Regions from separate parts of the Homo sapiens genome. Here all the other regions are linked to region 3. The links are contacts of gene promoters, found by promoter capture Hi-C in blood cells and fetal thymus (Javierre and others, 2016). All regions are on one chromosome and are shown on one strand. The core of a region is centred on a gene start or on the middle of the fragment in contact, and the rest is flanking DNA. Distances in the headings are between cores, read along the strand shown. Region 1 has its middle 12 kb from the start of RIMOC1. Region 2 overlaps OXCT1 (3-oxoacid CoA-transferase 1). Region 3 holds the start of CCDC152 (coiled-coil domain containing 152). Region 4 overlaps FBXO4 (F-box protein 4). Region 5 overlaps RIMOC1 (RAB7A interacting MON1-CCZ1 complex subunit 1). Region 6 overlaps LOC102723752 (a long non-coding RNA gene).

Region 1 (4,447 bases), core at 554-3,053, 860 kb after region 3:
GCCATATGGCAACTCTATGTTTAATTTTTGAGGTACTGACAGACTGTTTTTCAAAGTGGCTACGTCATTCTGCATCCCCACCAGCAGTCTATGAAGGTTCTAATTTCTCCACATCCTTGCCAACATTTGTTATTATGTCACTTTTTGATTAGTGGCCATTCTCACAAGCCATTCTTGTCCACATGAAGTGGTATCTCATTGGTTTTGATGTGAATTTCCCTGATGAATAATTATGTTGAATATCTTTGTATGTGCTCATTGGTCATTTACATATCTTCTTCGGAAAAATGTCCATTCAGATCTTTTGCCCACTTTAAATTAGGTTATTAATATTTTAATAACCAACTTATAATAGTTCTTTATATATTCTAGATACAAGTACCTTATGAGAGGTATGTTTTACAAATATTTTCTGACAATTACTGTCTGGGTAATTTAGTTCCAGCCTGAAGAACTCCCTTTATTATTTCTTATATAGCAAGTCTGACAACAGTAAACATTTTCAGTTTTGTTTCTTGGGGAAGGTCTGTCTTTATTTTGCTTTCATTTTTGAAAGACAGCTTTGTTGGGTGTAGGATTCATGATTGACCTTGTTTTTTGAATACTTTGAATATGTTATACCACTATCTTATGTTTTCCACTATTTCTGCTGACAAGTAAGCTCTTAATATCACTAAGCTTCCCTTGTAAGTGACAAGTCATTTTTCTCTTGATATTTTGCAGATTGTCTCTTGATCTTTGACTTTCATTATTTTTATCACGATGTGTCTTTGTGTGGATTTCTTTACACTATTCCTGCTTAGAGTTATTGAGCTTCCTGGTTGTCCAGATTGCCTTTCAATAAATAAATTTCTTCAGTGTTCAACCTTTTCTTTCTTTTGTTTTCTTTTCTTTTCCTTTTCTCTCTCTCTCTCTCTTTCACCTCCCTTCCCTTCCCTTCCTCCTTCCCCTCCCTTCCCCTCCCCTTCATTTCCTTTCCTTTCCTTTTTTTTTTTTTTTTGAGACATTTTCACTCTGTCCTCCAGGCTGGAGTACAATGGGTGTGATCTTGGCTCACTGCAATCTCAGCCTCCCAGGCTCAAGCGACTCTCGTGCCTCAGCCTCCCAAGTAGCTGGAATTACAGGCGTATGCCACCATGCACAATTAGTTTTTGTATTTTTAGTAGAGATTGGGTTTCACCAGGTTGGCCAGGCTGGTCTTGAACTCCTGGCCTCAAGTGATCTGCCCACCTTGGGCTCCCAACATGCTGGGATTACAGGTGTGAGCCACCACGCCCAGCTTCAGCCCTTGTTTCTTTGAATATTTTTTGCTCCTTTTTCTCTCTCTTCTCTTTCTAGTACCTCCACTATACATACGTCATTGCCCTATGTTTTTCACATTTCTCTGTGGCTCTGTTCATTCTTCCTGGTTTATTTTTCTTTCTATTTTTTGGATTGTAGAATCTATTGATATATGCTTGAGTTTGTAAATTCTTTCTTCTATCAGTTGAAATCTACTGTTGAGCCCCTGTATGAATTTTTCATGTAAATTATACTTTATTGAAAATTCCATTATTTTCATTGGGTTCTCTTTTATTATTTCTATTTCTGTTTTTATTTCCCTAGAGGCAAGGTCTTGCTCTGTCACCCATGCTAGAAAGCAGTGGTGAGATCATAGCACACTGCAGCCTCAACCTCCCTGGCTCAAGTGATCCTCCTCCCTCAGCCTCCTGAGTAGCTGGGACTACAGATGCATGCCACCATGTCTGGCTAATTTTTAAAATTTTTGTAGAGATAGGGTCTCACTTTGTTGCCCAGGCTGGTTTTGAACAACTGGGCTCAAGCAATCCTCCTGCCTTGGCATCTCCAAGTGCTGGGAGATTATAGTCATGGGCCACTGCACTTGGCCTGTTTCTATTTATTTGTAACCTCTGTTTGATGTGACATGGTCATCTCATGTTACTTTTTAAATCATGATTTCCTTTAGTTGTTTGAACATATTTATAATAGCTACTATTGAAATCTCACATCTGGTTACTCTCACAGGCAGTTTTGTTGCCTGATTTTTTTTTCCTGCTATAAGCATCATAATTTTCTGTGTCTTTGCATGTCTCATAATTTTTTTGTTGAAAACTCAACATTTTAGGTAATAAACTGTAGCAACTCTGAGTGCTGTTCTCACCCCCTGCCCATACTTTGTTATTGCTATTTGCTTAGTGACCAGCAGCATTGTTTTAACAGAATTTATATCCATCCCCACAACCCCCAAGCCCCAGTGTGAAGCCTCTGATGCCCATCAGGGCCCAGCCTTTGTGATACTTTCAGAGTCACTTTTAGATGACAGTTGCTGTGGTTAGGTCACTTTTTGATTATGTCTTTCCCTGACCACATCTTAACTATCAAGCACTAGTAACTTCTAGTTAGTGTTCTGTTGTTTCCAGCAATGCCTTGAGGGCATAAATAGCTCCACAGACCAAATCAATCTAAAGGGGCTCCTTTGAAGGAATAGTTCCTGTCGTCAGTTATTGAGATTTATTCTGACCCCTTGTGATCTCCCCACAGCTGCCTCTTCCTCTGGTTCTCTCCAACAAACTAGCAGACCTACAGTTTACCTTATATCTCCAATGAAACTACTAATCACCTTCCAGTTGCCTTTTGCTTTGTTGACAGAGAAGGTCAAACTCTGAAAAATATTTGATGAGGTTTATTCTGAGTCATAACACTACCTCTGGTCCTGAGAACATGTGCCCAAGGTGACTGAGTTACAGTTTGATTTTATACATTTTAGGGAGACAGAAGTTACAGGCAAAGACATAAACTAATATATGTAAAGAATACATTGGTTCAGCCCATAAAGGCAGGACATCTCCAAGGGATGGGGGTGGCTTCCAGGTGATAGGTGGATTTGAAGGTTTCTTGATTGACAATTGGTTGAAAGAGTTAAGCTTTGCCTATAGAGTTGAAGTCAGCAGAAAGAAATGCTTGTGGTTAAGATAAAGGAGGTTATAGAAGCCAAGGTTCTTGTTATGTAGATAAAGCTTCCGGGTACTGGGCTTCAGAGGGAATAGATGGTAAATGTCTCTAATTGGGCCTTAAAAGTTTTCAGACTCCTTGTTAAATCACTTGTAGATCAGGAAAATACCTGGAAAGGGAAGGGAATTTTCTATAGAATGTATGTTTTCCCCACATGAGGCAGACTTGCAGGACTATTCCAAAATATGTTAAAGAAACGTATTTTGGGGCTAGGTGTGGTGGCATGCCTGTAATCCCAGCACTTTGGGAGGCTGAGGTGGGCAGATCACTTGAGGTCAGGAGTTTGAGACCAGCCTGACCAACATGGTGAAACCCCATCTCTACTAAAAATACAAAAATTAGCCATTCGTGGTGGTATGGGCCTGTAATTCCAGCTACTTGGGAAGCTGAGGCATGAGAATTGCTTGAACCTGGGAGGGAGAGGTTAGAGTGAGCCAAGATCGTGCCACTGCACTCCAGCCTGGTTGGCAGAGCAAAAGAAAAAGAAAAAAACAAAAAAAGAAATACATTTTGGAGTAAAATACTTTTATTTCTTTTAGGGCCTCTTATCTATCATATGATGTTATACCACAATCAGGTTTGAGTTGGTAACACATTGCTACAAAGAGTCTGCTCTGTCAGTCTTAGGATCTCTATTTTTAATGCTAACGCTGTTCAGTTGTGTCTAAACTCCCAAAGGGAGAGGGTATAATGAAGCATGTCTGACTCCCTCTCTTGCCATCTTGGCCTCAACTATTAATAGTTTTTCATGTTTCCTTGGAATCCCCTTAGTTGGAAGGGAGGTCCATTAAGTTAGTTGTGGGACTTAAAATTTTATTTTTGGTTTACAGCTTTTATCATCAATGAACCTGAAATGGAGCAAAGACCCTTTTTAGGGGCCTTCCACGCCCCCATAAGCATGGTAATAAAGGAAAATCTTGAGTTCCTTCAAGGAAAATTCCAAGGACCTAGCTAGCCTTGAGTAGTAAATGAGCAACTTGATAAACAAGAAGGTAGCTTAAAACAACAGTGAAGGAAATTAGAGTCACAAAATGTTTGCTTCCCTATAGAAACTAAAGATAACACCTTAACATATGTTCCTGAATTGTTTTTCAGAAACCTAGACCTCCACAAAATGGAAAATGCTATCTGTTGGCATACAGACTTCAGATAAGTGAGAACTGAAGACTGAACTTAGAGCACTGTTCTTTGTTCTAAACTTCTTCTTGCGGATCCTGGACAGTCATGCCCAAAGTCCAGAGCATAATATTCCTTTCTGCTGACCTCAAGTTTTTAGACAAACCTTCGCTTCTTTAACCAATCACAAATCCGAGAATCTTTAAATCTCCCAATAACGTGTGACCCCTTGCTGCAAGATGCCCCACCTCTTTAGACCAAATAGATGTATAGCCTCCATGTATTGAGTTATGGCTTTGCCTGTAACTCTGCCTCCTTG
Region 2 (5,152 bases), core at 1,006-3,505, 930 kb after region 3:
TCGGAAAGGTAGTTATACAATTGGGAATAATTCACAAATACTTGAGTTAGGGTTATGGAATGGAAAAGATCACTTAGGGAAAGAAGCTCTGGGACTAATCCTGAGGAGGCTTATCTTTTTTCTTTTCATTTTTTTTTTGAACAGAATATGAGATTAAGATTTGTTTCTCACTACTTTTGCAACCTTAGACAAATGACTTTAGAATCTCGTCTTCCTTACAGCCTCTGTTGTTTGCTTATTTCATGGGTTTATTTTGAGCATCAGTGGGATAGAGCATTCCAGTGTGTTTTCTAAAGCTTAAAAATGCTACATGCTCACCTTAATCCCTCCCGCTGCTTTGATTAATAAACCTTAGATGACTGTTCTCATTGACCCAGTGATGATGACTATTGAACTACATTGTAAATGGCAGCTGGCAAGGCACATCCTCTGTAACCTTTCCCTGTCTTCCAAAGTTCTTTATCTGAGAAAATAAAAATTCCATAATGCCTCCGATTCCTAAAATCTTAGTGCATGATCAAAAAACTAAATTTTGTTTTAAAAATATTGTTAGCTTAAATCCTTCAGAAAACTAACCAATATTTGAAGTCCATAAAATCAACTTAAACATGCTGATACCTTACATCAAGCAAAAACTGTGATGACTCTTGAGGGGAATATTATGGACACCTTCACGAGAGCAAGGTTCTTATAAATCTGTCACTTCATAGCTTGAGTTGTACACCCTCAAATTGATGACCTCTCTCTGCCTTTGTATTTGAAATATGGAGCATTAGTTAATGACCCATTTTATCTCTTTTTATACTTTGGCTCAAAAGATTCACATATTTTGGTTTGGGATGAAGATTAAAGTTATTTCCTGCTTAAAACTTGCTTGTGCTGAATAACCACTGTGACTTTTTTATTCTTTAAGAAAGAAAAGTTTACTTAGCTCATGATTTTAGTGGGTACAAAGTCCAAGACTGGGTAGCTGTGTCTGGTGAGGGCCTCATGCTGCTTCCACTCATGGCCTAAATTGGAGGAGGAGTGGGTGTGCACAAAGAGATCATGTGATGAGAGAGGAGGCAAGAGCCATATGACTTCTTTTGAATGAAAGTCACATCTGTTGTTCTTTTGGGGACATAAATAAAGAGGGCCTCAGATACTGATGCTTTCTGTTCACCTGTGGGCATACAACTCCCTGAACACAGAGGGACTTAAGGTCCAAAATGTAAGTTATGTGGAAGGAAGTGTTTTCTTTTCTTCCTTATGATAGCTTTGCCTTATTGAATTTTTATAGAATTATGAAAATATCTTTTTGTTTTTGGATGGAATATTTTAAAACAGTTAACAGTTCCTAAGACTAGGAACCAAGAGTTACTTAACTGTTAGAATGTAATGGTCTTCTACTCTGTGGTTTATTCCATGAAGAAATCAAGTCCACTCATGTCTAAGACTAGAGTTTACCTTCTCTGGTTCAGCTTTTTCAAGTTTAATGATAATACACAGTGTTTCTGCCACTGAGTAACAAAGTCCACATTCAGATTCTTCAACCACTCATGTCCAAAAGTATAGGTCACCTTCTCTCTTATTCAGCCTTTGAAGTTTAATGATAATATACAGTGTTTCTGCCACTGAGAACATATTTGGGTTCTTCGAAGAGAATTCTAAATACAAATCCTACCTGAGGAAAGTTAAACTGGAATGTGAAGAACCCTGCTACCTTTTCTGTGCCTTCTGTGAAAAGGATCTGGGTGATTCATTTAAAGAATCTATTTTAGTTTCCTTAATAGTTGCAGAAAAGGATACAAGTTTTGCCATGTATTGTGAAAAAGTTCTGTTCAGTTTTGAATTTCACTTTAAATTTTGGAAAAGCTTTGCCGACACAGACAAAACTCAGAAGAAAATTTCATCGTTATTACCAAACTCAGGCGAATACAGGTTAACTATAAAAAGCTATGAGATTAAGAATGAGTTTGAAAGTTTTGGTGTAATTTAACTTTCTCTGAGGAATTTACAAAACTCATTCATCTTGAATTGTCTTCTTAGAATTGGAATTAGACCTTTAGAAATAAAAGTAGTATTAAGTAGAATCTGAAAGACATTTTTATAACTCAGCTTCTGCTATAAAAAGTATTTTAGCTGCTGTTTTATTTATAGTTTTTTGTTCAGTGCTCTTGGCATCTGAATATGTTTGCACTCAAAATGTTTTCACTTATTTTTCCTCTTTGGTTTATGTTTTTAATGTACAAGGTAATATTTTATATGTAAATTGAGGACTAGGTTTTATAAGGAGATAGGAAAATGGAATGGAAAACTTTCTTAATGAAATTCATTCCCAGGAAATAGGGGCAGTGAAATGGTCCAAGTAGACTCTATACAGCTAAGATGTGCTTTACACAGAGTGTGGTAGATGCTATACTTGAAATATTTTCAATAATGGTAATATAAGTTGAAGGAGATATATAGCCTAATAATTATGAAAACAACAATAGCAACAACTTCTGTTTATACCATGCACTTACATGTAAAGCACTTTATAGTAACCCAGTGAGGTAGGTTTTATTGTGTATATTTTATAGAAGAACAAATGAGGATAAGGAAAGACTTTAAGATAACAAAATTGGTAGGGGGAAGAGTTAAGATCTAAACATTTCTTTGTGCCTCTAAAGCTTATGTTCTGAAGCAAAAACAAATGACGGTTGGTATATTTTGAGGTGCATTTTACATTATGCTTTGCAATGTTAACATTTTTATCTAATTTACAGTCTCCTTACTTGCAGGCTCATAGACCTTTAGCTGACTGAATTTTTCAGTTAACTTAGTGTAGCCCCAGGATAATGTTAATACTTTCATAAATGCAAAATTAAGAATTGTTCAGTAATGTTAACCTTTTAGAAAATATGAAATAGGATAATCTCCTAAAAGCTGTAAAATGAGAACCTTCACATTTAGGAAGACAGAATGTTTTTTTCCCCCCAATTGAAAATGAGGTAGATAGTATTATATAGTTGTTTGAATTCAAGATAGAAACTTTAGGATTCTATATAGTAACTACTGGTAATGATTATTTAAAAAATAGCCACTTCCAATTTCAGGCCTAACGTGCCAGGAGGTTGGAAGTTGCCACACCCATTCTCACAATAAGAAAAAAGATGAATAAACTGAAAAATCAACAATTATTCTTAGATCCGTCAGAGGATTAAAGTCACAGGGCAAACCACTGCCACCCAAATTGGAGAGAGACAGGCTAATACGGAGAATCACAACTGACTGGAGCAGAAGCCTAGTAGCAGAAATCTCCATGGGAACCAGTCCTGGGGTAGAAAAGCTCAAACTGTAATTGATGAATTGTTGGAGGCTCATGTGGACAAGTTTGAGAGTTAGACTCCAGAGTGGTCTGGTCTTGGGAGGGGCTTCATATTTCTGTGAGTTTTATGTCTAGGATCCCTACCAGAGTTTTGGTGAAGACCAAAGGAAAATTTCCTTGTGCTTCTGGCAAGGGGAGGGGGGAAAAGTGGACATTTTGAAATATACCCAGAGCGTTCTCTTTTTAACAAGGCCTGCCTTCAAGTGAAATGAATGATAGTAATGTTATAAGAGACAAGTGCTGGGGATACCATGTTTTAAGATATTTGCACTACCTGTGAAGTGATATAGTGTTATTTGAAAGAGTACTTGGATTAATTGTAAATGTATATTGCAAACTCAAGTGTAACAAAAAAAGCAGAAAAAGAATTGTATGAAAAAGATTAATTAAAACTACAGAATGCAGAAAAGAGTGGAGAGCAAAAAGAATAAAGAACAAGGACAATGATGAGAATAGTAGCAAATATGGTAGATATTAATCCGACTAAATAATTTGAACATTACTGGTCCGAACAATTAAGACTCACAGTGGATTAAAAACAAGACTCAGCTGTATGTTGTCTATAAGAAATCCACTTTAATATACAGACACAAATTACAAGTAAAGAGATGAATGTAAAAAATTATTCTAACATTAATCAAAAGAAAGCTGGAGCAATTAGGCTGGGCACGGTGGCTCAGACCTGTAATCCCAGCACTTTGGGAGGCTAAGGCAGGTGGATTGGAGTTCAAGAGCAGCCTGATGAACATGGTGAAACGCCGTCTCTACTAAAAATACAAAAATTAGCCGGGCATGGTGGCACACGCCTGTAATTCTGGCTACTTGGGAGGCTGAGTCAGGGGAATCGCTTGAACCCGGGAGTTGGAGGTTGCAGTGAGCTGAGATCATTGAACTCCAGCCTGGGCAAAAGAGTGAAATGGTCTCAAAACACAACAAAGCAAAAAAAGTTGGAGCAGTTGTATTAATTTCAGACAAAGTAGACTTCAGAGCAAGGAAAATTATTAGGGATAAAGAGGGCTAGTCCATAATGATAAAGAGGTCAGTTCTCCACAAAAACAGAAAAATTCTTAGTGTTTATGGTGTGGCAGTTCTTATTTCTGGTCTCCTCCCACCCCCAAACCACTACCGCAGAACTAGCCTCATGAGCTTCAGAAGTACCAGTACTGGCTGCCTCCTGTCACTCCCAGTAGGGGTCTGAATCCCAGCTCTGAGAAACCCCTGGCCCCATCACCAGTTCCATTTACTTCTCTTTGTTCCTCCTGCAGTTACTAGATCCGTGTCACCTGCGTGCTTTTTTGCCTTTTTGGTTCTCAATTTCTTATTTAAATTCTATTAAAATAACTGACAAAACTAACTCAAGAAGGAGTAAAGAACTAAATGTAAGTGTAAAATAGAAAACTCATCGGAAATAAGAAAAAAGTGGCCATGCTTTTTTAGATAAAAACATGATCCCTGAGAGAAAAACACTTGATAGGTTGGACTTCGTTAAAATTAAAAACTACTACTCTGTGGAAGACACTGTACAGGGAAAAAAATGACAAACTCTGGTTTGGGAGAAGATATTTGAAACATGTATCTTATAAAAGACTGGTGTCAAACATATGCAAAAACAATTAAAACTCAACAACAAGAAAATCACCCTATCACAAAATAGGTAAAATCTGAACAGGCACCTTACCAGAGAAGATACACAAATGGCAAATAAGCATATGAGAAGATGCTCAACATCATATCATTAGGGAATTGCAAACCTAAATGAAATGCCATTACACACCTATTAGAATGGCTAAAAGTCAGAACACT
Region 3 (4,887 bases), core at 795-3,294:
TTAAATCTGAGGCATGACTTTTAACTGTAATTATTCTTAATTAAAGATGTTAAAAATACTTGTTTAACTATCATGTCACAGATGTTTTCTGCTGTTATGCTTATTTCTTATATTTTGTTTGGTAAACTGGTAAATAAAAGATGCATGGAAGTTAATGTGCTCAAAGCAATCTCTCTGCATTTCTATTGTCTTGTAATTTTGTATAAGGGATTAACCTTTGGGGATAGCCAGCTAACTGCTGAAGAATAAGAGTTTCAGTTTTAGTCCTATGAAATCAATCATAAGAACTTCTTCAGAATCCCAGAATGTAAATGCTGGCTATTTTGCAAAAGTCAATTTATCCATTCTGACTGGATGAGTTTACATCTTCAGATGTAATGTAAACAAGTATGAGACACTTGTCTTTAGATTTTTCTATAGCAAAGAAGAAAGGGAAAATACAAGTTTGAAATTCAGGGATGTTAGGTTGAGGAAAAAACATGAACCAATGTATGGTGTGTGAAAGCGGTAACTAGTCCAAAGTAAAATGTAAGTAAAATTCCTGATGTAGTTACTCAAAGCAATTTGGGGGCATATTATTGTTTAAAAGGAAGTTAACCAAAACAGATATTGCTTGACAATATGTTATTTCATCAAGATATCTCATTTTCTTCTTTTGAAATATTTTGCATTAGCAATTATTAATGGTTTTTAAATCTCAGATTTTTGGCTGTATATTTTGTTTCTTGAATTATTATCTCGAATTATTATCTTATGTATGACATATGCAAGCACAACTACATATAAAATCCCTTAAATAGTTAAAACTTGATCCTTACAGCAGAAAAATATTTGTTAATAGCCTCCCATGATACAGTAAAATTCCTTTTGGAGTAAAATTAAAAATAATTGCTGTTTGATAGTACTGTTATTCTTTAATAGTGCTACATAGTAATCTGAAGTAGTTAATGGAAACTCCCTCCACCCCCACCTTTTTTTTTTGGTACCTAACCTTTTAAATAAAAAAGGTTTTACTAGGGTTTTGTCTCAGAATCTGGCTCTTGAAATAAATGCATTTAAATTTGAGCTTGATTTTCTCTCAACTCCTTCCCCCAAAGAAGACCCTGTTATTTCCTTGTAAAACCATCACTAATATTCCATTTGCTATCGTTGCATGATATCCCTTTTGCCATAATGGCAGAGCCAGGCAATTCATTTCTAGGTATCTTCATTGCCTGCTCTTCTGATTTCTTAGGTCAAGATCCTTTCAGTGAATATGGTCTTGCCCTGTGAAATTCGGTGTCAAGCTGGTGATTCAGTGCTTGTCAAATTCCTTAGTGAGCCGCAGAGACTGATTTGTGACCTTCAAGGCTCAGCTTCAACCGTCCCCACAGGCAAGTGAAAGTCCCATTTCCTTCTTTGTCTTCTTGCCTGCTGGCTTCAACCATCCCCACAGGAGCGTGACAGTTCCGTTTCCTTTTGGGTCCTCCTGTCTGCTGGCTTGAGTCCCGGGGCTCGTCCTCTCCCCTACCCCACACAGTTGGTCCTTCGCCGCTCGCCTGCCCCACGCTCTGGTCCCTCCTCTTTCCTCCTCACCTCCCCTCAAGAATTCACTCTCAGTCCTGAAGCCTGGGTCCCCTGGCTCCCTCTCCGTCATCCTAGTGTCCTTAGGGACCTAGCAGAAATAAAGGATGGGGGCCGAGGACCCGCGGATGTGAGAGAAGTGCCTGAGACAAAAACCTGTATGGACCCAGAGCACTGTAAGGAGATAAGAAGAAAAGCATCTCTATGGAAAAAGCGGGAGTTTCGAATCGCTTTCTAGCGTCCTTAGCGGCCTAGCAAAAATAAAGGATGGGGGCCGAGGACCCGCGGATGTGAGAGAGGTGTCTGAAAAGAAAAGCCTGTAATGGACCCAGAGCACTGTAATGAAATATGAAGAAAGGAATCTCTATGGAGAAAGCGGGAATTTCGAACCGTCAATAGAATTTGGAGTGTACCTGCTGTTGCTCCTAGTTCCCCACAGTCTCCCTTTCCGCTGCCTCTGGGGCCTGGTACACCCCTGAATGCTGTCCCCTCCTCCGGAAGCCGAATCCCCCAACAATGGGCCCGCCTTTCTCTGGGCCCGCCCTGTGCGCTATGCTGGAGCTCCTACCACCAGCAGTTCTTACCAACTTGGCCCAGCTCCGCTCAGCATCTGCGGCTGCTTAGGTATTTTCATGTGGTTTCCAGAACATGAATCAACACCGGATCAATAATTGTTTCCCCAACCAAAGAATAAATCACATTGGGTGTTCTGAATTGTGAGTCAGCTCCATTGAATAAATAATTATCCATATCTATTTTTGTAACTTATAAAATTGCCTTTTAAAATTCCAGAGCCAGTTAATAGATATGGTTTCCCATCTACAGAGTTATATCTTGGTAGCTTAATGATTAAGGGCGTGGGCTCTTGCGTGGATTCAAACCCCAACTCTTCTCTTTTTCCGTGGGTGATAGTGGGTAAGTTCTTAATTTCATGCACCTAAGCATCTTCATCTGTATAAGAGATTAATTATAATGCCTGCCTCTGCCGGGCGCTGTGGCTCACGCCTGTAATCCCAGCACTTTGGGAGGCCGAGGGGGGTGGATCACCTGAGGTCAGGAGTTGGAGACCAGCCTGGCCAACATGGTGAAACCCCGTCTCTACTAAAAATACAAAAATTAGCCAGGCGTGGTGGCGGGCTCCTGTAATCTTACCTACTTGGGAGGCTGAGGCAGGAGAATTGCTGGAACCCGGGAGGCGGAGGTTGCAGTGAGCGGAGATCGCACCATTGCATTCCAGCCGAGACCCGCAGCAGCAAGACTCAGTCAAAAAAAAAAAAAAGAAGCCTGCCTCTTAGGACGGTTGTGATGATTAAATGAAGTGATGCATTTATAAGGTGCTTAATGGAGATCCTTGCTTAAAGTAAGTGTTCAGAAATGTTAATTATTAGAATTTTTGAATGTTGTTCAGTAATAGTTTGAAAGCGAATCCACTGCCAACTTTGCTCATCTGCTTTTTTTTTTTTTTCTGAGTGGGAGATGGGAGGTTTATTTTTGTTAATGTGATTTTTCGATAGACTCCAAAATTTGGCAAGTGAAAAAATATAAACAGTAATATGATAACCCATACTTTACTAGTTGAAAGGTAGTGTGGCATAATGGCAAGAAAATTAGGTTAAAGTGGAAAATGGGGGTTGTAGTCTTCACTCTGCTGCTCAAATAAGCTTTCCCTAACATTAGTAGCAACACATAGAAATATTGAAAATGACCTGCTGAATTGCGGGTTCTACCCAATTAGCAAATATAAAATGTTCCATGTAACTCATGTCATAATAACTTTTGAAACAAGCCCATTTTAAGACCCTAAATGCTAAAATGCTACCTTCTCCATGAGTCATTCACTGATCGTATCAATCAGTTGTGATCTACCTTTCCTTACTCTATGGAACATGCTAGCTTTCTGTGGCATTTGTTAAGACTGAATTGATGTATTACCTCTTTTGCTGTATTTATTATTGGCTCCTTGGGGGAAGAAACTCTATTTTCTTTATATATATATATATATATATATATATACACACACACACACACACACACACGCGCATGTATGTATGTATGTATGTATGTATGTATTAAGTTCCACCTAGGCCCATCCTAGGCAAATTTCAGGAGTCCTTTGAAAATATGTGGTGACTGGAATGTGTAAGGTGGAGAGGGAGCTCCCTAGATCCCCTGCCTCATCTGTACTTCCAAATCTTCTGGATGTTCCAACATTTGAAATACAGAAGCTTTGACTATCTAATGATTTTGGGATGTAGAGACTAAGAAAGTTGGAATATTATATATATATATATGTATATATGCAAACACACATATATGTATATATATATACACATATATATGTATATGTATATATTTCTCCATAGAGCCTACCATAGAGAAAATAGAAATGAACCAACACATCAGGAATAAGTCAGAAAAGTTTAGCTTAATTTTTCTAGTTTAGAATGGGTTGCAAGTTTATCTTCCAGTTTATAGATGTTAGCATTTTTTTCAAAGAATTCTAGTAGGTTTAGAGTGCATCTTTCAATGAGAAACTAAATGAACTTGTCATGATTTCATCTTTAAAAAGTGAATGTGTTTCACAGTTGTATTCACAGTCTTATTCTTCAGATACCATCCAACTGAGAAACAGAATTCATCAAATATTTGCTCAGAAAATATTCATTTTTGCTTACTACTTGGATGTGGGATCATTCATACACCACATGTCAGCAACATGCAATTTACTCATGTAGCAAACTTGCACATGTACCCCCCAAGCCCAAAATAAAAGTTGGGAAAAAAGAGAATATTTATTTTCTGATAGATCAAGGATTTATTTAATATATATTTTAAGACTGCCTGGAAAACCAAAATAGAGAAACAAACTACATTATTTTGTCATACTAACAAAGAAAGTAACACTGGAATTCATTAAAAATACCCTGATTTGGAAGAGAAATGCATATGTACCTGGGCAGCTGAAAAAAAATCAGAAGCTACCGGTTTATGTACATAAAGATCTTAAAATGAGTGATACATTGATTTTTTTAGGTTGAAAACAGCTTCACTCATTAATTCATTCTAAAATATTTAAGTACTTACAAAACATCAGCTGCTGCAAGTCTAGGCACTAAGGAGAGCAAAGACAAATAAGAGACTCTCCTTTTGCCTTGGAGCTTACAGTCTCAAAGGAGAGACTAGCAGAGGATTGAAATCTAGTGTATGTTATTGGCAATATTGCTCTGGCATTGGAATCTCACTTGATTATTTTAGTTACTATCACCGGCATATTATAACAACAAAATATTATGGTGTTGCTCCCATATCACAGCAAATGTTTAT
Region 4 (5,158 bases), core at 1,086-3,585, 820 kb after region 3:
AGTACCAAACTTTGGAATGCATCAGAATTCCCTGGGTGCTTGGAAAAAACAGATGCCCAAATCTGATTCACACAACCCAAATCTAGGAATAAAATCCACCAGGGTAGGAATCAGCTTGTTAACATGTTTAACAAGCTTCCCAGGTGATCCTAATACACACAAAAGTGTGAGAACACACTATTAATAGTAAGGGTCAGAAAATCACATTGATAAAATAAGCCATCATATTCTTAAGAAGCCACAGTAAAGTCTAAAAAGGTATTTTCCATTTGCTTTGAAAAGAACAATGTGCTTAAAAATGTACATATGAGTACTTACTTTTATGAGCTTCAGCATTTGCAACATAGATGAACCCATCTACAACTTCACACACTTTTTGAATCTGTGGAATCACACTGTACCGGCTTCCTTGTTGATCATCACCTTCATTGTGTCGACTGAACATCTTGTTAACTGCACTTGTATGCTCTTCCCTTGCTCTATCTCTTTCCTTTCTAGAAAAAAAATTGTAAAGACAGAATATAAAAAGACACTAAACAGGCTCCACTCACCTGAAATGTTTTAGTTCTGATGTTTCAGTTAAGCCACCAAGTATGTAGCCTTACCTGGTAGTTGAATATAAGATTAGAATGTTGAATTTATGTTGGTTGTTCAACTGAAAATTGACTCCTGATCCAATACCTAAGAAAGAAAATCACAGTTACCAAAACAAATCATTAATAAAAATAGCAAAAGATCACACTGAAAATTACCCGGTGAAAGCAAAAAGAGTAAAGAAAAAATTCTATAACAACTTATACATAGAGTTGAAATAAAATGTATACGTTGAAGAAAAGATACCGTATGTAACTTTCATTCACATGACAATAAAAATACAGAGAAAGAAAAAAACTGCAAGGCTTATAACAGTCCTTATATCATCATCACTATCATCAACAACTTTATCATCTTATCAGTAGCAGCTGCATAATCACAGCTACTACTATTTATCCTCAAGACTAAGACTCATTTTCATATTTTTATGTTTCTCATTAGTCTAATAATCAATGTATACATTCAATTAAGTGTCTTTCTCCCCCTCTGAAAAGCTGTTTTTAAATTGATGGGGGGGGCAGGCACAGTGGCTCACATCTGTAATCCCAACAATTTGGGAGGCTGAGGTGGAAGAATCACTTGAGGCTAAGAGTTCAAGACCAACCTAGACAACATAGTGAGAACCTCATCTCTACAAAAAATACAAAACAATTATCCAGGCATGGTGGCCCATGCCTGTTTCCCAGGTACTTGGGAGGCTGAGGTAGGAGGATCACTTGAGCCAGGGAGTTCAAAGCTGCAGTGAGCCATGATCATGCCACTGTACTCCAGCCTGGGTAACAGAGACCTTGTCTCAAAAAATAATAATAAATTACTGAGGAGTTGCCAAGAGAACATTAGTAAATTGAGAAAATACTGAAGATACTGAAATTTAGAATTCGTCAGAGTTGGATTATAATTCTGAATTTCTCACTTATAGCCATGTATTTGTATCCCTCAGTTTGACACCAAAAAGAAGTTGAACTAATATATTCTTCTTAGGTTTACTGGGAAGATTAAACGAGATCATACATGTAAAACTCCTAGTAGGGTGACTAGTAAACCACAAGTGCTAAATATTAGCTTCTTACTGCTTTGTATCTGAATCATTAGCCACTGTTATTTGTCCTTCTTTCTTAACCTCTTCCCTCCTTGGACTGTGTTAACACTAAGTGGCTGGTTCTCCTTTTGCCTCCTCAAAAGACCCTTCTGGGCTTCCATGGCTCTACTTCATCCTGTTATATAAATGTTCTTCTAGATCTGTTCAGTTCTCTGTATCCCCATGACCACACTTTAGTTCACATTGTCATCATCACTCACCCGGGCCTCTGCAATCACTTCTAACCAGTCTCCTATATCTTCTTGCCTCCTATTATCCTTTCCTCTGACATCAGTTGGAAGAATTTTTTAATAATGGTATCTAATTGTCTTCTCTACAAAGCCATTGCCCTTCAGATGAAGAAATAAAACCATAATATCTGGTCCCTACTAACCTCATTAGAGACAACTCCAGCCTTTCATACTCTTAATTCCTGCATTATAACTAATTTATTTGTTTAAATAAGCTATGCCATACCATCTCATGTCATCATTCTAGGCAACACACACACAGGGCTCTTAAGTACTAAGACTGCAACCATGCCAGGCCATGTGATCCTAGTCCTCCAGCCACCAGGTCTGGTGCATGTTTCACAGAGACCACAGAATCAAACTTTACCATGTTTCTGATCTTTGTTTTCATCAGCTGCACTCCCAGAGATTACCCTCTCAACACGTCTAACTTCAGCCCAATATAGTCGCCATACTGTTCTGCCCTTCTTTGCCAATTATGTAACCCCATATTCTCTCGTCTTGCTGAGTGTGAGCCATAAATTGAAATTTTAAAACAATCACTTCAGCTGCTCTCTGGAAAATGGAATTGACATTTTATAACCATCAAACTTCCCCATTTCCTCAACCTCTTCTTGAGGTGTTCCTTTGACCTAATAGCCACACTTGAAATTGGCCTACCCCTAGGTGAGGCTTCTCCTGCAGTGAACTCTCAAGTAGCAAAGATGCTTATTTTCTCAAAACTCAAGGTAAAGAGGTGGGATTCATGTTCTCTTAACTCCCAATGCCATATCTAAACAATTACTCACCAACCCTCTGAAAAAAATCCTTCTACTTGAGAAACACATCATTCAGCTGTAGCACTCTTTCCTTCTTTGTCGTTATTACTTATGAATCTCCATTTAATAGTCACTTCCCCCAAACATAAACTGAACATTTCAGCACCTGTCTCCAATCTTCCTCTCCATCCTCAAAAACTTCCAAGTCCATGTGGACTCCGTATGACTCCCAAATCTCGATTTTCTAGCCCAGATCTTGCTCTTGAGAGCTGGATGCATACAGTAATCCATCAAGTCATTCACTCATTCACCAAATATACAGAGAGTGCCTGTTATGTGCCTGGCACCACAGATATAGCTAAAAATAAAGTGGACAAGACTCTTACCTTCATGGAGCTTCCATTCTAGCAGATTTGCTTATAGTAGGTATCTCTACTTGGATCTTCCATGGAGTTATCAAAGTCAACATATTCCAAAGAATAGCTGCCATTCTCCCTATACAGATCTTACTGTTACCTGCCCCTTCCAAATTTTTCTTAACTTCTCCAGTGATTTATTACCCTAGTGAATCCTCTATCATCCAACAAAAAACTCAAGTCAGAAACCTGGAGCCATCCTTATTACTGCTAATACATTTATTCTGTCAATTTTATATCCTTACTATTCATTCTCTTCTCTCATCTTCACTAACAGTGACTTAGAGTTCAGATCCTCTTCATATTTTAATCATAACATTACAGTGGCTTCTTAATGGGTCTCCATATCTTTAGCCCCTTCTAATCAATTCTTCACTCAAGAGCCTGAGTAATCTTTCTAACATGCAACCTTGATCATCTCAATCCTCTACTTAAAATCCTCCAGCAGCTCCCAAATGCTTAAGCATGGTACATATGTGTCTTTTCACATAGCTCCACTCTTTCTAGATACACAGTGATACTTCAAATGTGTCCTCTACATCCAGAGCTTTGTGCTTTTAGAAATGTAGTTCTCCGCCGGGCGCGGTGGCTCACGCCTGTAATCCCAGCACTTTGGGAGACCCAGGTGGGCGGATCACGAGGTCATGAGATCGAGACCATCCTGGCTAACACAGTGAAACCCCGTCTCTACTAAAAATACCAAAAAAATTAGCCAGGCGTAGTGGTGGGCGCCTGTAGTCCCAGCTACTCGGGAGAATGGTGTGAACCCGGGAGGCGGAGCTGGCAGTGAGCCGAGATCGCGCCACTGCACTCCAGCCTGGGCAACTGAGTGAGACTCCATCTCAAAAAAAAAAAAAAAGAAAGAAAGAAAGAAAGAAAAAAATGTAGTTCTCGCTGCCTGGAACACCTTTACTGTCTTTTTGTGATGGCCTACAACTATTCACCCTAGTGACTCATATGAGACATCATCAATATGGAGCCTTCTTTGACCGTTACCTTTCTACCCAGGAACTAAATACATCATATTCTAGTTATCTGTACACTTGTCTATGTCCTCACCTACACCTATCTTGAAGGCAAACAGAGACATTGTTCTAAATCTGCATCCCTATCATCTCACTTATAGGGGCTGGCTCTCAATAAATAAGTAAAGCAAAGGCTAAATTTTATTATTACTTACATTTACTATTTATCCTGCCTTGCCAAATATTTATGCATTTTTTTTAATAGAAAGAGGGGAAGGTGATGATTTAAATCTTTTGAATTCCAATACATATCAAAATACTCTCCACACAGATGCTCAATTTTTTCTGCTTTTTCAAACATGATAAATATGATATCCCACTGTACAAATGCAACATCTTGACAACAAATAATTTATTTTCACATAATCTTAAAGGCTGGATTGTACAAATTTGAGGAATTAAGAGGAAGCTTTCTTATAGTAAGTAAATTAATTCTGTCAGTTCAGTGGAACCTGGTAGGGCTCCCAACAACCAAAGTACTGTACTTCATTATAGCAAATAATTAATTTAAAATGAATTTCTTTCTTTTTAACAAGAATGTCAAGCTCAAAGTGTTTGAATTAACTGTAGATTAACATGAAAATTACCATCAATCTGCCTCTGAGGCAAACCAGCTGTTGGGCAAAGTTCCTCTGAAGACATCAAGCTCAACACCAAAGAGGTATTCAATTCTTCCAAACCTGGTCCAAACATAGCAAATCGTGGTTCATTCTGAATGATCAGGGAGTGTAAAAAAGAAGTGACAGCTCCATACATAGGACGGCTGGATTTTGAAGCTCTTCTTGTGTATGGACAGCACATTCTATAGCTGTAAAAAATTGTCACAATTAGAACATTAACACAGAAAACAGCCAGTTATTCATTCAAAAATATATAATTTATTGAGTACTTGCTAGACACAATGGATACAATGATTATATAGTCCCAATCCTCCAGGAGAACAATAGACAGACACCTTTATAATATGTATGTGGAGTGCTCTGACAGGGAAAAGCACAAGGTGCCATGGGGGTGGGAGTGGCCCAGAAGCTAAGGA
Region 5 (4,562 bases), core at 1,956-4,455, 840 kb after region 3:
TGATGAAAGAAGTTTAAAATTTGTTTTGCATTCGTTGTATTCCATTCTTGTTCTTTCAGGGGTCCTTCACACACAGATACATACTTTTTCAAGATTTTTTCTCCTACTTCTCGGAAATCCAAGGGTTCCTTGTATGTAGTGCAGCCCGCTCCAGACACACTAGTATCCACTTCATGATTTTCTGGTTGCTGATCAGCACAATACTTCGATCCCCAGTAACACATTTCTCCACTGTACATCATAGCCAGCAGATGAATGTCACTAAATATTCCTGGGAAAGTCATTTAGGTTGACAGATTAGAATTAAAAGCTTAAAAAGAAACCGTAGTTATTAACTAAACTCTAATTAAAGTTCCTTTTGTCATTAAGCATTTTCTATTCTCACTTTAACAGTAACACAAAAGCCAAATATGACTAACACAATCTTCATTTAATTAGCATTTTTTAATATCGATTTTACTGATAAAGGAGGCCCATTACAAAAAGAAAAACAGAGTACCAGAGAATTTTTTTAGAGAACCATTTAGGTGTTTTTGACCTTTTTGGGGTCCACTCTATAACTTCTTTGAGAATCTAATTTAAGGAATAGAACTTCTCCCAGAATATACACCCCAAATTCTGCAGTCAATTTCAGAGTACTTATAAACTCCCTGAATTACATCCATGGACACACCCTTTATTTTGGGGTATGCTCTAGGATAATTCATATAGCTAAAGTCAAGTATCCTAGACCTCTTATATTCTCTAAAAGTCTAAGAAATTATCATGCATAATCATGCCTGAGAGTCCATACAATTTTAAATTATTAAAGGTGTTATTTCCAAGATGCTTTGTATTACCAGAAAAAAAGAGAGTATGCTGCAGAATTTTCATCAAAAGTTGAACTCTTTCTTCTTATGGGTAGTTTTTCCAGTAGGCAATTATATAATTAAATATTTATGGTGCATAAAGTATATTAATTTGGCAGAAAGACAAATAAACCTAGAATAAAAAAGATCTGGGTATAAATTACTGGCTTTGTGTCTTTGGGCAAGTCACCAAAGCTCTTTGAATCTCAGGTTTTAAATCTGAAAAATAAGGAGTTTGCATCCCCTACTTAATTCCTGAATTTTCCTAAAGAACATAAAAGAAATAAAAATGTAACTTCTTAAAGCCATTGAAGAAAAAATAAATGATGGATTCTAATGTGCTTCTGTGATTAGAAAAGATTACTTCAAATAAATGAGCATCACAATGTCTGTTGTTCACCTAATATGATTCAACAAAAGTGACTATGATGGCACTGGATATGAAAAATTCAACTTTCAAAATAGTGGTAGTTTCTGTTTGAATCTATTGCAAGCTTTTTAAAGTATCAAAATTTGTTCCTACAGTTTTCACCTTCACTTCACCTCAATTTCTGCTTATAAAGAGTAGCAAGAGAAACAACAGGCTCAGCAGAATAGCTGAATGAATGGTGATATGGTTTGGCTCTGTGTCCCCATCCAAATCTCATCTTGAATTGTACCCTCATAATTCCCATGTGTTGTGGGAGGGACCCAGTGGGAGATAACTGAATCATGGAGGCGGTTTCCCCCATACTGTTCTTGTGGTAATGAATAAGTCTCAAGAGATCTAATAGTTTTATAAGGGGTTTCCGCTTTCACTTCTCTCTCCTTCTCTCTTGCCACCGCCATGTAAGAAGTGCCTTCTGCCTTCTGCCATGATTATGAGGCCTCCCAGCAACGAGGAACTGTGAGTCCATTAAACCTATTTTTTCTTCCCAGTCTTGGGTATGTCTTTATTGGCAGCATGAAAACGGACTAATACAAATGGCTATATGATAAATAGTGGTTCTCAAACTTTTGCCTTCAGAACTTATTCCTTCTTTCTAACTGTATGTTTGTACCCATTAACCCAACCTCTCTTCATCACACTCCTCCCACTCATACAACCTTTTGTGATACCAGCTCTGATTTGTAGGGGTGGGAGGCTCCTCAGTGGTATTAAGGGCATAAACAAAGGGTGTAAAAGTTGGACAGTTTTTTATTTACCTCCATGTGATTCCAGGTTTATTCTGACAATGCAATTTTTATAACCCTTTTATCTGATAAGGCCATGTCCAAAGATTAAAATTCTCTGGCCCCATTTCACAGAAGAATGAGACTCAGAGGTGAGATACAAGGGCTTACTGCATAAAATTTAATGATATACAGATAATGTCTAAACAACAATATGATTATCTTACCTTAGAAAAAGTAACAAAAACCATACACAGTTTTGAGTTTTATCTAAAATTAGGTAAATTATCACCAAGATCTAGCCACAGAAAATTTGATGTCTCATATAGAACTTTTCTCCCTAAATGCTAAGAATTACTCAGAATTGTATTTTATATGGACTAACAAAAAATAATTTGAGCCTCTCAAATTAGGACTTAGGAGTAATTCAGCCTATGAAAAGTAGGTTTCCTGGCTTCTAATCTAATCGTGTTCAGATAGATACATTTGGGCAAAGCAGCCTTTTTTTCTTTTTTCTCAGACAGGGTCTCACTCTGTTACCCAGGCTAGAGTGCAGCTGTGCGATCAGGGCTCACTGCAGCCTCAAACTCCTGGGCTCAACTGATTCTCCAACCTCAGCCTGCCATGTAGCTGGAACTACAGTCATGCACCACCACGCCTGGCTAATTTTTTTTTTTTTTTTTAGTTTTTGCAGAGATGATGTCTCACTATGTCTTGAACTCCTGGCGCCAGTTTTCTCAAGTGATCATCCTGCCTTGGCCTCCTAAAGGAGGCAAACTTATGTTTGTTTTGTTTTGTTTTGTTTTGTTTTGTTTTGTTTTGTTTTGTTTGAGACAGAGTCTGGCTCTATCCCCCAGGCTGGAATGCAGTGGTGAGATCTTGGTTCACTGCAACCTCCGCCTCCTAGGTTCAAGCGCAAACTTCTTTAGATGAGAACAAAAGGCCGACACCCTAAGAGGACTTAGGACAGTATGTAGCAAACTGCTATGGTGCCTATACTGTGTCTTTTTGCCTGGAAAATGCTACCCTATCTGACCCTTTTAATTCCCTTGTTGAAGAACCAACTGAAACTAGGAGCTAGTAAATTCAAAGTATGACAAAGAGACGCCACCAATATTACATGCTTCCTGAAGAAAAAACTCCAGGTTATGAGAATGTCTTACTTTATAACTGGAAATGGGAGAATTAGGAAAACAGGTGATTTGTGCCACTCCCTTTGGTTCTAAATGAGCTGTAGTGCCTACCCCCACCTTTTTCTTTTAAAGTGTCCCACATTAAGAATTCAATTTAATCAGTCCATGTGTATAAATAGAAATTTTTTAAAAGCCATTTTCAATGCCTCTGATTGGTTCCTAGTTATCTGAAATAACTAATAACTAGTATATACTTGCCATAATTACATCAAATATCCTATGTTTGTCAAAATGTCATGCCCACTGAGGGAGCTTTTTGTATTCACAATAAGTTGTTTTAGAATAAAATATTTGTCTAAATGAGCAGAAAGTAATAATTTTTGGCCATCAGGTCACTTAAATCACTATTTTTTTTCTATGAAATGCTTTCAAATAGAACAATCCAGGAGAGGCTAACAAAGAAACAGGAAGAATTAAAACATATTTAATATACTAGAATATTTCCAAAGAGGTACTCTAATTATTCTTCACATTTCATTTTTTTCCCATCAAAACTTCAGATGAAGTATAAAAAGGTTTACACATGTGATCTAATGTTACTTGCAGCTATATGACCTTGAACAATTCACTTGCATTTACCTGGATCTCAGTTCTTCCATTTATAAGGAGATGGTAAAAGTAAGTGGTTCTTCTCTCCTCACACACAAGTCTAAAACCCAGATGATGCTCTATATTCAGTTCCTAGAATTTTCAAGTACACAGACGCTTGTGGCAGAAATTTATAGTTGCCAACCAGTATTCATTCTCCCCAATACCCCCTTCTTAGTAAAGAATCTTAATTTTATTTGGGATGGCAATGTATCAGGTTAAGGACTATACTTCCCAGGTTTCCTTATAGCTAAGTAAAGTAATCTGATTAAATTCTGGCCAGTGAAATGGAGGTTGTAAGAAACTTCTGAGAATGATGGTCTAAAGGAACAGACTTGGCTGAAATTCCCTTTTGCCATTCCTGTAGCCTGAAACACAGGTGAGATTGAAGGAGCTCCAGGAACATCTTGGGATACTGAGAATAAAAGCAATGTCCTAAACAGAGATGCATGCTGCACAGTCTGGAAAGTATCATTTATATTATGTTCTATATAAAGTGCCTCCCCATGAAGAGGGGGTCTGGTTTTAAAGAAGAATGGAGGAAAAAGGTAAGAACATGATGAGATGGAGCCACTGTACCAGCTCTGGACCTTTACTGTGCGAAAGATCACTAAATGTCTACCTTGTTGAAAAGTTACTTCCATTCGGTTACAAGTAGCCAAATCTAGTACTGATAATATGCTGACAGAGGCTTGATATGTTTGGCTCTGTGTCCCCACCCAAATCTCATCTTGAATCATAATCCCCAGGTGTTGAGGGAGGAAGCTGGTGGGAGGTGACG
Region 6 (5,187 bases), core at 816-3,315, 880 kb after region 3:
TGGCTTGTATTAAGGCAGCAAAAAAGGGTTACCCAAGTCAAGTCAACACAACTGATATTTGTTGAACTGCTCTATGCTTAAAAGAAATCCTAGGACACTATAGATACAAAAATGAACAAAACTTAATAAGCTCATAATCCAGGTGACCAAGGGCCCTGAGAGCACAAAGTAAAAGAATATAGTTTTTTAAGAGGTGGAATTCGGAGTGTGAACAGTCAAGGTACACAGAGGAGTGACATTTGATCTGAGTCTTGAAAGAGGAGTAGGAGTTTGCTCAGCTGGCACAGAAAAAAAGGCTTTAGCAAAGGCTCCCTGTCAGAAGGTGCTTGGTATGTGCAGGGAGCAGAAAGTAGTCGAATTTAGCTAAAGCCATAATTTTCAAACATATTTAATATGAGTCACCCTTTCAAATAAAATTGTATTTAGAACCCAACATATACAATGTGTAAAAGTGGTACTTTACAGTTTAAATGCATTTTATCATTTTAATTGTGAAATATTTTCCTGTTATACATGGAAAAAATGAGAATAATGAAGCTCTTCGGAGAAGCTAAATATTGCAGCCATGGAGTTATATCTGATATTTTGCTTATTTTATTTCTGTTTGGCTGCACAATAATAAGAAAGTTCTGATTCACACTGCAGCTTGTCCCAGAATTTCAGTATATGCTTCAATTAAAGTAGATCAGAAGCTTGAAAGAAAAGTAGCAGGAAATGTTTGCTTCAGTGGTCAATAACTAATAATGTCAATTACCTCTTGTTCACATATGTAAATGTCAGACAAGATGTAGCCAAAATGGAAAATAATCTCTAAAACTATTTATAGTACAATATTATCATGAAGTGTTTTATATGCTCTTTTTGAACAACTACAATGCTGTGATAAGAAATAATTCTAGGCAGTACATGTCTCTGACCAGAGCCTCAAAGTATTATATACTTATATAAATTTAAGTGAGTCAAAATGCAGAGGTCTAAATGATAAAAAGATAAATACAGAGCTACAAACATCTTTATCAATGACATATTTTATATATTCAAATATAGGAAATTTGATGATGAGGAACCTTTAATCTAAGGTTTGTCTCCCAACTGCACAATCTGGTCTGTTTTTTTTTTTTTGTTTTTTGTTTTTTTTTTTGAGATGGAATCTCGCTCTGTCACCCAGGCTGGAGTACATGGTGCAATCTCAGCTCGCTGCAACCTTCATCTCCCAGGTTCAAGTGATTCTCCTGCCTCAGACTCCAGAGTAGCTTGGAGTACATGTGCCATATGCCAGGCTAATTTTTTATTTTTAGTAGAGATGGGGTTTCACCATGTTGGCCAGGCTGGTCTGGAACTCCTAACCTCAGGTGATCTGCCCACCTTTGCTTCCCAATGTGCTGGGATTACAGGTGTGAGCCACCATGCCCAGCCACAATCTGGTAATTTTTAATACTTTTAAATCAAAGATAGATCACAATTGAGTGTGCATGCTCCTTTTGTTAGTGTTGATAGAATAGTAAAAATGTAATCTAAAATTTAATTTCAAAATATAATGTTTGCATAGCCCCTGAAGTACCTCTGCAGAGCCCTTAAGGCCACATGATTTGTTGAGGCTAGATTAAACAAAATCTTGCCTATAATTGAATGTTGGACTTCACTTGCAGCCTTTGAGCATTTCTTGAAATATTTTAGAAAAAGATGTGAGAAGACCAGATCCTGTATTTGAAATAATAATTTTAAGTATGTTTAAATTGAGGGAGAATGGAAATTCATTTGGAAGGAAACTGAAATAATTCAGATGAGAGAAACTGAAACTGAGGCCCTGAAGTAGTGCAGAATGAGTGAAACTGGAGAGTTGGGGTAAGATTCAAAGATATCTCAGAAAGAGGGAGGTATAAAGAAATAGCAGCTTTTAATAACATATGGTCCAGGGTTTGAATCTTGCCTTATTTTTTTCAGTTTATTAAGTAAATTTTTCAGTTTACTTTATGTTTTCAGTAACCAAAGCACCTGCTGTGGTTTGAATGTGTCCTCCCCAAATTCATATGTTGACACTTAATTGCCAGTGTGATAGTATTAAGATATGGGGCTTTTCAGAGTGATTAAATCATGAGAGCTCATGAATGTGACTAGTGCCCTTATAGAAGAGGTACAAGGGAACTGTTTATGTCTTCTGCCCCTTCCATTATGTGAGGACACAGAGAAGGTATAATCTATGAGGAACAGGCTCTCATCAGACCCTTGTTAAAAGAAAAACTTTAGACAAATTAACTTTAGCAGAGTTTATTTGAGCAAAGAACAATTCATGAATCAGGCAGCACTCTGAACCAGTAGAGGTTCAGAAAGCCCCACTCAGCAATGTGAGCAGGCAGTATTTATAGGCAGAAAGAGGAATTGAGGTACAGAAACAGCTTGATTGATTATGGCCCAGCATTTGCCTTATTTGGGCACAATGCAATGTGGCATTTGCCTTATGTGGACATGGTCTTATTAGTTGGTAGTATGTGATTGGATGAAACCTGGCTGCTGTAATTAGCTGAGACTCAGCTATCTGTTACAAGAACATACTCTTAAGTAAGGTTTATTTAAACACTAACTTAGGTGCAGTTTGCTATGCAGAATTCCAAAGTATGGAAGCAGCTTTTGGCCAAATTTAATTTAATTTAACATATTCAATATGCTGGTGCCTTGATCTTGGACTTTCCAGCCTCCAGAACTGTGAGAAATACATTTCTTCTTGTAACTTACCCAGCCTAAGATATTTTGTTGTAGCAGCAAGAATGGACTAAGATAGCATCTGGGAAATAATTAATAATGTATAATCTTTTAACACCTGAATAATGCAAATATTGATCTAGAGATTACCTTACATCTTGACATTCTGTAAGCCCTGCTTAACTACTGCACCACAGAAGGCCGTATAGCTAGAGACTGCAGAGCTGAGACTTGAACCCTAGAAGCCTAACCACAGAATTCCTGCTCTTTATTATTTTGCTGTCAACACTTGATTCTGAGGTTGTGCAAATTCACTGTGTAAAAATCAAGAGGCACATATAGTTTGAAATATAAAGCAGACGTGTGGGGGAAAGGAAGACCAGAAGAGATGATCCTCTTCTATGTCATGTTATTAAGTATGAACTTTGGATCTCAAAGGCAGTGGGGAAAACCAATGACAGGTTTTAAGCAGAAATAAAGTGATCAGTCTTGAATGTATACAAGATCACTCTGGTGCATTTTACTCTTTTAGGTTTCCTTAGTATCTTATCATAATTTTCAATTTCATTCCAGGCCTTAAGCCCTCTCCAAGTATCTCATGCATTTATTTTACTTTTTTTCTGAGAAAACTACACTTTATAAAAATCAATCTATTTTTTCTTTAATCATTGAACAAATATTAAATACACACTAGTTAATACAAGGGACTCCTTTAAAGGATCTATGAAAATAAGCTTGCAAAATATGCAAATTAATGGGTGTCTTGCACTATAAAACAATACTTAGATTTACAGATTTATGTGAAATTTCAGATTTATGTCCTTCAAACCTACTAGAAGCAAATTGTTTGAAGGACTATGTTCTCCATATATTAAAGGACTATTGTGATAAAATGAAGCACGCATGCACTTTTATAAGTGACTCAAATGACCTACTTAAAAACTGCTATTTCTAGTGAAACCAGTTAATCAACATTTGAAAAACAAGTCTTCAGATGCCCCTGGTTATCATCCTGGGGAGTACACCATCAACTGTGAGAATAGGATGTCATATCTTGCACTAATGAGATATGCTAATGCATCATATTTTAGGAGAATTAAAATGAAACTCCTTAAAACAGAGAATAATTTACAATCTAATAAACTCTGACACATTACCTGCATGTATCTGATAAAATGGTGCCACACAGTCATGCCTTGCTTAATGACAAAGACAGGTTCTGAGAAATGAGATGCTAGGCTATTTTGTCATTGTGCTAATACAGAATATACTGACATAAACCTGGATGGTCTAACCTACTACACACCTAGGCTATATGGTATGGCTTATGCTCCTAGGCTACAAACTTGTACAGCATGTTACTGTACAATATTTAGTAGGCAATTGTAACATAATGGTAGTTATTTGTGTATTTAAATTTTTCTGTTCTTTCTTTTATTTTGAGACAGAGTCTTGCTCTGGCATGCAGAGGAGCAATCTCGGCTCACTGCAACCTCTGCCTCCCAGGCTCAAGCAATCCTCCTTACTCAGTCCCCACTGCCCACCCCACCCCAGTAGCTGGCTACAGGTGTGCTCCACCACACCAGCTAATTTTTTTGTTTGTCTGTTTTTGTAGAGACGGGGTTTCACCATGTTGCCTAGGCTGGTCTCGAACTCCTGGGCTCAAGCGATCCACTTGCCTTGGCCACCCAAAGTGCTGGGATTGCAGGCGTGGGCCACTGCACATGGCTAAACATTTCTAAACATAAAAAAGCTACAGTAAAATATGTTATTATAATCTTATGGGACCACCATCATATATGCTGTCCATTATTGACCAAAATGTTATGTAGCACATGACTTGGTGTATGTACACCCACACCCACACATACACATACGTATCATAACATAATACAAAAAAACAAAAAAAAATACAAAAAAACAAACAAAAAAATCTTTCCTCATTGCATGACTGGAATCAGACCTTTTGTTTAAAGGCTTTGAATCCAATTCTCCCAGTTTTTAAAAGTGTGGAAGTTAAACTGTAAGATTCCACAAAGAAAGGTTTCCAGAATATAACATATTTGCCAGAAACTGCCTTTCAAAGCAAGTGGGAAATATCCTTACTAGTTCGGAAAAGTTCAGATATTTAAAAGAAGTAAAATTTTGCACACCAATTAAAATTGAAGTGCCTTTGTGTAACTAGAAGTGAAATCAGCACATAAGAACTTTTTTTGTAATTTGTAATCTAATTTATTCAAGTTGAAGAGACTTGCACATTATTTAAAAAGTATAAAATGAAGTCACAGTCATCAAAAATACAGTACAGTGTGTTTTGACCATACAGTAATTAGGGTGATTTTCTCAGGAGACTTAGTCACATAGCATGCAACATTTAAAATGTGTCTTCCTCAGCCAAGAGCAACAAAGTGAGACCAGCCAAGAGTCAGTCATATGACCACCGGCAAAGTTGCCAATGCAGTTTTTCCATTTCATGTGCCCTGTGGA

The links. The method cuts DNA at HindIII sites, captures the fragments that hold promoters and counts their contacts. A CHiCAGO score of 5 or more calls a contact.
Region 1: a contact is called between a fragment that was not itself captured here and the fragment with the promoter of CCDC152 in region 3, in 4 of 17 cell types (M1 macrophages, monocytes, M2 macrophages and 1 more). The highest score is 9.2, in M1 macrophages.
Region 2: a contact is called between a fragment that was not itself captured here and the fragment with the promoter of CCDC152 in region 3, in 1 of 17 cell types (naive B cells). The highest score is 5.1, in naive B cells.
Region 4: a fragment that was not itself captured here is called in contact with the fragment with the promoter of CCDC152 in region 3 in 3 of 17 cell types (M2 macrophages, monocytes and M1 macrophages); the score reaches 7.0 in M2 macrophages.
Region 5: a fragment that was not itself captured here is called in contact with the fragment with the promoter of CCDC152 in region 3 in 2 of 17 cell types (M1 macrophages and monocytes); the score reaches 5.6 in M1 macrophages.
Region 6: a fragment that was not itself captured here is called in contact with the fragment with the promoter of CCDC152 in region 3 in 4 of 17 cell types (monocytes, M2 macrophages, M1 macrophages and 1 more); the score reaches 7.8 in monocytes.

The regions. Positions count from the first base shown.
Region 1 is chr5:41,889,747-41,894,193 of GRCh38, reverse strand. No RefSeq gene overlaps it. Among named protein-coding and RNA genes, the nearest start is that of RIMOC1, 12 kb to the left of the region's middle. The HindIII fragment of the contact is 2,246 bases long and covers 681-2,926 here.
Region 2 is chr5:41,821,620-41,826,771 of GRCh38, reverse strand. All of the region lies in intron 7 of OXCT1 (3-oxoacid CoA-transferase 1), which reads left to right. Among named protein-coding and RNA genes, the nearest start is that of OXCT1-AS1, 46 kb to the left of the region's middle. RefSeq lists an enhancer at 4,299-4,800. The HindIII fragment of the contact is 797 bases long and covers 1,857-2,653 here.
Region 3 is chr5:42,753,975-42,758,861 of GRCh38, reverse strand. It overlaps CCDC152 (coiled-coil domain containing 152), which reads right to left and starts at 2,044. Exons shown (of 9, transcript NM_001134848.2): 1 at 1,977-2,044. RefSeq lists enhancers at 988-1,487, 1,488-1,989. The HindIII fragment of the contact is 10,296 bases long and covers 1-3,226 here.
Region 4 is chr5:41,929,469-41,934,626 of GRCh38, reverse strand. FBXO4 (F-box protein 4) reads right to left here. Exons shown (of 7, transcript NM_012176.3): 3 at 4,710-4,930; 4 at 606-681; 5 at 319-494. Among named protein-coding and RNA genes, the nearest start is that of FBXO4, 6.8 kb to the right of the region's middle. The HindIII fragment of the contact is 4,396 bases long and covers 138-4,533 here.
Region 5 is chr5:41,912,725-41,917,286 of GRCh38, reverse strand. RIMOC1 (RAB7A interacting MON1-CCZ1 complex subunit 1) reads right to left here. Exons shown (of 6, transcript NM_175921.6): 6 at 1-271. Among named protein-coding and RNA genes, the nearest start is that of FBXO4, 10 kb to the left of the region's middle. The HindIII fragment of the contact is 3,721 bases long and covers 1,345-4,562 here.
Region 6 is chr5:41,871,963-41,877,149 of GRCh38, reverse strand. The region is part of intron 1 of LOC102723752 (a long non-coding RNA gene); the gene reads right to left. OXCT1-AS1 (OXCT1 antisense RNA 1) reads right to left here. Exons shown (of 3, transcript NR_046635.1): 3 at 4,909-5,187. Among named protein-coding and RNA genes, the nearest start is that of OXCT1, 4.1 kb to the right of the region's middle. The HindIII fragment of the contact is 2,742 bases long and covers 695-3,436 here.